2 separate regions of the Homo sapiens genome follow, and region 1 is linked to region 2. Evidence: promoter capture Hi-C in 16 types of primary human blood cells and fetal thymus (Javierre and others, 2016). All regions are on one chromosome and are shown on one strand. The core of a region is centred on a gene start or on the middle of the fragment in contact, and the rest is flanking DNA. Distances in the headings are between cores, read along the strand shown.

What was found. Contacts are between HindIII fragments. The CHiCAGO score rates a contact against its expected background, and 5 or more counts as called.
Region 1: a contact is called between a fragment that was not itself captured here and the fragment with the promoter of AKAP5 in region 2, in 1 of 17 cell types (megakaryocytes). The highest score is 5.6, in megakaryocytes.

What each region holds. Positions count from the first base shown.
Region 1 is chr14:64,348,340-64,352,851 of GRCh38, reverse strand. No RefSeq gene overlaps it. Among named protein-coding and RNA genes, the nearest start is that of MTHFD1, 38 kb to the left of the region's middle. The HindIII fragment of the contact is 7,082 bases long and covers 1-4,512 here.
Region 2 is chr14:64,463,819-64,467,861 of GRCh38, reverse strand. It overlaps AKAP5 (A-kinase anchoring protein 5), which reads right to left and starts at 2,363. Exons shown (of 2, transcript NM_004857.3): 1 at 2,249-2,363. It also overlaps a transcript of ZBTB25 not described here. RefSeq lists silencers at 2,089-2,158, 2,169-2,568. The HindIII fragment of the contact is 7,002 bases long and covers 1,804-4,043 here.

The DNA.
Region 1 (4,512 bases), core at 580-3,079, 110 kb after region 2:
CTGCGCCCAGCCTTCATTTAGTCTTTTGGCTCATTCATTTGTTTATCCAATATTTATTGAGCATTCAGTTTTCTTTTCTTTTCTTTTTTGAGACGGAGTTTTGCCCTTGTTGCCTAGGCTGGAGTGCAATGGCGCGATCTTGGCTCACTGCAATCTCTGCCTCCCGAGCTCAAGCGATTCTCCTGCCTCAGTCTCCTGAGTAGCTGGGATTACAGGCATGCGCCACCACACCTGTCTAATTTTGTATTTTTAGTAGTGACAGTGTTTCTCCATGTTGTTCAGGCTGGTCTCGAACTCCCGACCTCAGATGACCAGCCCACCTTGGCCTCCCAAAGTGCTGGGATTACAGGTGTGAGCCACCATGCCCGGCCTAATAGTTTTCTTTACTAGAGTTCTTGGGTTTTCTGGATTTCACTGTATATTGTCAAATTGTTTCCTAGGAAATAATGTATTTTTAAAATTTCACTTATTTATTTTATAAATAATTTGATTCTAAAGGTGGAACAGTTTGGACCAGCTCATGGGAGAACTGTCTTTTTTTTTTTTTTTTTGAGACAGTCTTGCTCTGCCTCCCAGGCTGGAATGTGGTGTTACCATCACGATTCACTGTAGCCTCAACCTCCTAAGGCTCAAGTGCTCCTCTTGCCTCAGACTCCCGAGTAGCTGGGACCACAGGTGCACACCACTATGCCCAGCTAATTTTTGTAGAAATGGGGTCTTTCCATGTTGCTCAGGCTGGTCTTGAACTCCTTGTGGCTCAAATGATCCGCCCATCTCTGCCTCCCAAAGTACTGGAATTACAGCCTTTATTTCTTTTAGATTTTCAATTTACTGCCCCTAAGTTGCAAAATGTTCTCTTAGAATTATTTTTATCTTTGCATTCTGTATCCATTCTGTATGCATATCTATATATTCTGTATATTCCTCCTTTCTAATATTGTGTATTTTCACTTTCTCTCTTTCCTTTTTAACCAGGCTTGCCTGAGGCATCTATTTTATCTTTCCAAAGAACCAGTGGTTCTTTTTGAGACAGGGTCTGGCTCTGTCTATTGTCCAGGCTGGAGTGCAGTGGCATGATTATGGCTCACTGAAGCCTCAACCTTCAGGGCTCCAGTGATCCTCCTGCCTCAGCCTCCCAGATAGCTGGAACTATAGGTGCACGCCTCCACGCCTGGCTAGCTTTTTGAAGTTTTTGTAGAGATGAGGTTTCGCCATGTTGCCCAGGCTGGTCTCAAACTGCTGAGCTCAAGTGATTCTCCCGCCTCGGCCTCCCAAAGTGCTAGTATTACAGGCATGATTCACCGTGCCTGGCCAGTTCTTTTTTTAAAATATACGTTTTATGGCCTGGCACGCTGGCTCACCCTGTAATCCCAGCATTTTGGGAGGCTGAGGTGGGCAGATCACTTGAGGTCAGGAATTCGAGACCAGCCTGACCAACGTGGTAAAACCCTGTCTCTACTAAAAATGCAAAAGTTAACTGGGCATGGTGGTGTGCACCTCTAATCTCAGCTACTTGGGAGGCTGAGGCAGGAGAATCACTTGAACCAGGGAGGTGGAGGTTGCATTGAGCTGAGATTGTGGCACTGCACTCCAGCCTGGGCAACAGAGCGAGACTGTCTCAAAAATAAATAAATAAATAAATAAATACACATTTTATTAGTTTATTTTGGTTTATATGTAATGAATATATATAGTATGTTTATTAAATCTGCACCCTACTTTCTCTTTTCCCTTCTTAAGTAAATGTGCTTTTTTTGTCTTTTGTTTTTAAATCAGAAAAAGAGTAAGTACTATTGAATGTTCCTCTGTAGCTTGTCCAATAGATTTTTATAAGAAATGTTTCTTTTCACTGTGTTCTATGTATTTTTGTAATTTTAGTGTTGATTTCCATTTTTTGGCTGAAGGTATTCAGAATTTTTGTTTGTTTGTTTTTTGTTTTTGAGACGGAGTTTCACTCTTGTTGCCAAGGCTGGAGTGAAGTGGTGCAATCTCGGCTCACTGCAACCTCTGCCTCCCAGATTCAAGCAATTCTCCTGCCTCAGCCTCCCTAGTAGCTGGGATTACAGGTGTGCACCACCATGCCCAGTGAATTTTTGTATTTTTAGTAGAGGTGGGGTTTCACCACCTTGGCCAGGCTGGTCTCGAATTCCTGACCTCAGGTGATCCCCATGCCTCGACCTCCCAAAGTGCTGGGATTACAGGCGTGAGCCACCGCACCCAGCCTAGAATTTTTTTAACCCTTTATACACACACACACACACACACACACACACACTTTTCAAAATCAAATATACCAAGAGTCTTTTATTGAAAAGGAGCAGCCCTCTTCTGTACCTCTCTTATTTCCCAGAGGGAACTCTTTAACTCTTTTAGCTGTTTCTGATAGTAACTTCCATTTTCCTAAACAATTTTAAACTGCCTTATCTCGAGTTATCTATATTAGACATGTTGTTGATTTCCTGTTATATGATAGATGAAATTTCATCTCTCATACCACTTTCCTACCTGCTCCTTTCATCTTCCCAATCTGGTTATATTGATATTTTAAGCTAAATGCATAATCAGCATTTACTTTACCGTGATACTAAATGTTTACAAAAGCATGAAGTACTATATTCTTGGTACATTTTCTTTCTTGTATTGCATTTTATTTTTCCTACAGTTAATACCTTCCTTATATTTTCATACGTTTAATTTTCAGTGTTCATTTATCAAGGTTTTTTTCCTGCCTAAATCTGTATCAGATGATCCTTTAGTCTTTAAAAATCTCCCATTTTTTCTCTCCCAAAGTCCTTCATTCCCTTGCTTCAGTCTGGATTTTACTCTGTGGGCCTGAGCACAGCCATGATGCCATGACTTTCCTTCTCTAATCTCCTGGTTAGGTTTCATTGTTTGCCGAATCACATTTCTTCCTCTTTTTTGGTTTCCTTTCTTATTTTACTGGAACACATCCTCCAATGGCTTCCTAAGAAATGGTGCCTTGGAGAGCGACATTTTTTGAGGTCCTTGTGTGAATGACAATGTCTTTTTTTGTTTGAATCATCATACTCAATTGATAGCTGGGTTTAGACTTTATTTTCACACACGGACTTCATTGTCTTCTAATCTCTAGGGTTGTTATTGAGGAAAATATGCCATTCTGATTCTTGTTCCTTAATATGTTATTTCTTGTAATGGATTAAAACATTTACCATAACTTTTTTGTAATAACATTTTATAACTAATTTTTTTCTCATAATAAAATTAATTCAGCTGGGCATAGTGGCTCATGTCCGTAATTCCAGCACTTAGGGAGGCTGAGGTGGGTGGATAGCTGGAACCCAGGAATTTGAGATCAGCCTGGACAACATGGCAACACCCCATCTCTACAAAAAATTTAAGAACTAGCCAGGCATGGTGCACACTTGTAGTCCCAGTTACTGGGGAGGCTTAGGTGGGAGGATGGGTTGAGCACGGGAGGTCGAGGCTGCAGTGTGCTGTGATTGCACCACTGCACTCCAGCCTGAGCGGCAGGGTGAGACCCTGTCTCAAAAAATTAAAAAATCATGTGTATTAGTGAAGATTTGTAAAGTAGAAAATAATAGAAATAAAATTGAAATCACCAGTAATCCCACCATTTTGCGATAACTAGTATTAAATATAGGTATATTTCCCTCTGATTATTTTCCATGTATATTTTTATCATCATTGAGATGTACATAGTTTTTCTTAATCCTGCTTTTTTCATTAACTACATCATTGTTAATTTTTCTTAATAAATATTTTTGAAAACTTAATTTCTAGGGAATAATCTATCATATAATAATTTTTCTTTTTTGACATTTGCATTGTTTCAGTTTTTTCTATTATGAATAATGTTGTAAAGAATATCTTTGTGGGCCAGGTGCGGTGGCTCATGCCTGTAATCTCAGCAGTTTGGGAGGCCAAGGTGGGCGGATCACCTGAGGTCAGGAGTTTGCGATCAGCCTGGCCAACATGGTGAAACCCTGTCTCTACTAAAAATAAAAAAATTAGCCAGGCATGGTGACAAGCGCCTGTAATTCCAGCTACTCGGGAAGCTGAGGCTGGGGAATCACTTGAACCTAGGAGGCGGAGATTGCATTTAGCCAAGATTATGCCATTGCACTCCAGCCTGGGCCACAAGAGCGAAACTCTCAGATATTCAAAAAGAATATCTGAATATCTTTATGGCCGGGTGCAGTGGCTCACCCTTGTAATACCAGCACCTTGGATGAGCAACGCAGGAGGATCACTTGAGCCCAGGAGATTGAGGGAAAAAAAAAAAAAAAAAAAAAAAAAAAAAGCCCGGGTGTGCACACCCTGTAGTCCCAGCTACTCCAGATGTTGAGATGGGAGGATCACTTGAGCCTGGGAGGTCAAGCCTTCAGTGAGCTGTGATAACGCCACTGCATTCCAGCATGGGCGACAGAGCAAGACCCTAACTTAAAAAATAAAATAAAATAAATAATATCTTTGTGTGAGTCTTTTTTTTTTTCCCCGAGACGGAGTTTC
Region 2 (4,043 bases), core at 1,114-3,613:
AATTGCTTATGACTCTAAAGTGCAAGTTAAGCAAACAACAAGAACCAAAAATGAAGTGCAGGATGAAAAGCAAGCTGATGTAATCTTTATCACACTCAATAGATAATTTTAAAGCTGCAAAGGACTTTAGAGATTATTTGAGATTACTCAAATCCAGCCAGATGACAAAACTGAACTCCAGAGGGGAGCAGTTGTCTTGTCAAAAGCCATGCAACTAGATAAGGTCATAGCCAGAGTTAGAACTAGAGACTTTGACTCTCTAGTTTTACCATTATAACATAAGGTTTCTGTTCTAAAAATGTATGTTCCATCAAGGAAGTGCTATTTTTCATACATATTCTTAGGAAAATTTAGCATTACTGTCATTTCCCACTCTTAAATTAGTTGTACAATTTTGACATTTTCATTTAAGTACTGTATCTGCTGTATCACATGTTTCCACCATAATCTGCACATAGTTGGAAGTCAGTAAGAGTAGTAATAGCTGACATTTATTGAGCAATTCTTGGGTATTAGGCAGTGCATGCACTTTTACATACATCTCTAATCCTCACCACAATATTACAAAGATGGTGGTATCACCACGTACAGATGAAGCAATTTGGCTGAGATTACGGCAGAGCTGTAACAGAGCTCAGATTAACACAAGATTGCTTGTTGCTTAAAGCTTATGTTCTGAAACTGGGCTTTAAGAGTTTCGTCAGAAAATGAATTGTTTGGGGATACTAATCTGCAGTGTTTCATTAGTAAAAAAATTAAAAAATTGATTAATGGTCATTTAACCATAAGGCACTTATCAACTCATAATTGAACCACGAGTAGACTGAGTTCTTGTCATTTGAAAACCAAGCTTTTGAAATTCTTTATATTTTATTTTTTTGGTTCAGGAACTAATTTAAAAGCCAAAAATAAGTTGGCAAACTATGCAATTGGCAAACTTAGATAATATAAAGGTGTATTGAAAATTTAATCCTTAGAATGGTATGATGGCACCAAAGAATGGAAATGGGAGGTGATTATCCAACAAAGATCCTATGAATTTTAGTGGGTGGATGCCCTAAAATAAGCAAAGGGACTCATTCTTTATATTGTTTTTATGTAAATCCTTCACTGAAGTTTCATTTGGGTAACCCATAATTTTATGAACTGTAGAAGGAACTGGAACCCTGAAAATCAGTTTATGATCTAAGTAAATATTATCTTAGGTTGGGTGTTTCATACTGTGTGCCTCTAACAGAAAGATAAAGTCATTCTAGAACAATGACGGAACTAAAATATGAACATTTGACAGTGTTTCTCCTCACAATGTTTCAGTGAGCACTAGAACCTAAGCTGATAACTGTTTAAATCTTCTCACCTCTTGTGAGTTTTCAGCACCTGAGCATTTTTGTTAAGCAGAGGCTGTATTACCACATAATAGAAATATTGAAATGAGATGTTTAGGAGTCTGTCATTGGAAACTAACCTGGATTGCGCAAAGACAATCGTTTGAGAAGCTCACTTGAATGTATCTCACATACTAGAAATAAAACGAATACCCAAACAGAAACTTAACTAACGAGGGAAAATAATGCAGTCTGTAGACAATAAAACTTTGCAGAATGTCAGACTGCAAATGATTCGCTCTTAACCAGCAAGGGTAGCTTTATCGCCTCAGGAAATCTTAAAGTCCCTGTGCTCATTTCCTGATGGAATTGCAAGTCTCATGTCACAGAAAACACCCCCTTTCCTTTTTCCCTTGAGCAGCCAGTACCCGAGGAAAGCAATGCATCTTTCCCAGCACCAGATACGGACCACGAAGCTTCCTCCTGGAGGAAGGAATCTCGAATTCTGGCTTGACGCCCCTTATGGCAGGAGACAGAGCGCAGGATAAAGTACTCAAAAAGGAAAATGCCGGGGGCGTGGAACAGATAACCCAGCTTCAGGCTGTCTGCAGAATTATAATGTAATGGCCAGAAACCCAAAATCACATTTCTCAAAGAGGGATAAAGAAGGAAAAAAGCCACCGGCAACCCATGCTTCTAAGACAAGCTGTAACGCGAAGGGGATAGGTGGGCAGACCTGATGAGGGTCGCCCTGGCCGCGGATTCCAGCGGACAAGCGACCTCCCGCGTTCTTACTCCCAGCACCTCAGAGGGCTCGGATACCCCGTATCCAGTGGGCACCTCTTGCCCACTCCGCGGTCCGCGGACCGGACATTGCCCCCGACCCTCCTCCCCCGCAGGCTCCCCGCCCTGCCTTTACTTACGTAGGGCGTCGGGGTCCTTGGCCAACACTGCTCCCGAGGTGGCGGCGCGCTCGCGGGGCCCGCCGCCCAGGCCTCCAGGGAGCCGCGGTCGCACCCGGAGCAAGGCGCCCTCTGCAGAGCCCGCCGCCGGGTGCGCCCCCTCCCCACCGCGCGGGGACAGACAGCAGGCAGCGCCAATGCGAGCGGAGCGGAGCGGGCGGGCAGGGGCGGGGCGACCGCCGGAGGCGCGGGGCGGCGCGGGCGCCGGGACCCACCTGCAGCAGCAGCCTGCCTGCCTGCCGCGGGGAAGCCCATCGTGCTCCGCCCGGGCGCCAATCTCCACTGCCAGACCACATCAGCGCCGAGGCGGGGACCGCAAGAGAGCCAGCCGGAAGGTTCGGGGGGCGGGGGAAGGCGGGGGGGACCAGGGCAATGAACCCCGCGTTTTCTGAGACGCTAAATAGTGAGGTCCGGTTTCAAATTATAGACAGTCGCATTACACATCTCCTCTCCTCCCCCTCAGAATATTTAAAGACAAGGCAGACATCGCATTTTAAAAGCAGGATTCAAAACTGTGCATAGAATAGCGAGGTCATGTTTGTTTGAAGCGAAAATTACATATATAAATGGAAACAGAAAGAAACCCGACTTTCTCAGGAGTGGCTTGAGTGTCAGATCATCGTGGTTCATCGCCAAACAGGCTTTCAAACCTTTGTCTCCCAGTGGGAAGCAGGTGGAGGTGATTGGTGCAGAACTTTGGCCTGCAGGAGCAGCTGCATCTCTATGCGGACAAGGTGAGAAAGGCACAGGAACCCAGCTCCATCCATCTTATACCTTACATAGTTCCAAAAATAAGTTGAGGTAGCTTACAAGTTACCCATGATTCCCTTCAGGACATTCCCTATGAGGGCATTCCTGGGAGCTCCAGCTGTAAAATCTAGTAGGATCCATCACAATCCCAGCCTCCTCCTCTGGCCCCCATAGCATAGCATCCAGATGAAGAACCTGGTAAGGTGAAGTGAAGAACTACTGAAAAGCAGCCGCGTTCATCTCCTTTCTTCAACAGGATCACGACCTTAGGGAGTGTAAATGTCAGGTGTCCATTTTTGTATTTTTTCCGGAAATGTTTTATATTTGTAAGATTCTGTAGTTTCCACAGAGGCTTATCAAGGAAAGAACTCTTGAGACACAAAAGCAAAGCCAAATATAAGCTGTCAAGATCTTAAAATTACAGATAAAAGAGGCAAGAGTTGTAAAACAGGAAAATCCATAAGCATCTAGTTTAGTTGTAATTAAGAATTCAGGGATGGGCGCAGTAGCTCACACCTGTAATCCCAGCACTTTGGGAGGCCAAGGCAGGAGGATGGCTTGAGTCCAAGAGTTTGAGACCAGCCTGGGCAACATAGGGAGACAAAAAAATCTAAAAAATTAGCTGGGCATGGTGGTGCACGTATGGTCCCAGTTACTCAGGAGCTCAGGAGGCTGAGAAGGGAGGATCACTTGGGCCCAGAAGGTCAAGGCTGCTGTGAGCCACTACTGCACCACTGCACGCCAGCCTGGGCAACAAAGTGAGACCCTGCCTCAAAAAAAAAAAAAAATTCAGTCAGCCTTGTTCACTCAGCAAACACGTCTATCGAAATGGTCTGCGTATCTCTCTATGGGTTGCTAGCGCTGCTTGTTGCCAGTTTTGAACTTTAAGCCAAAAGAAATCCATTATGCTTATAAGCAATTGAGAACTATTCCTTATTGAGATCCAAGGTTTCTCAAAACTAGCAGACCTGGGAGTTTGCAAGAGTTTCAGGCAAAAAATAAGATG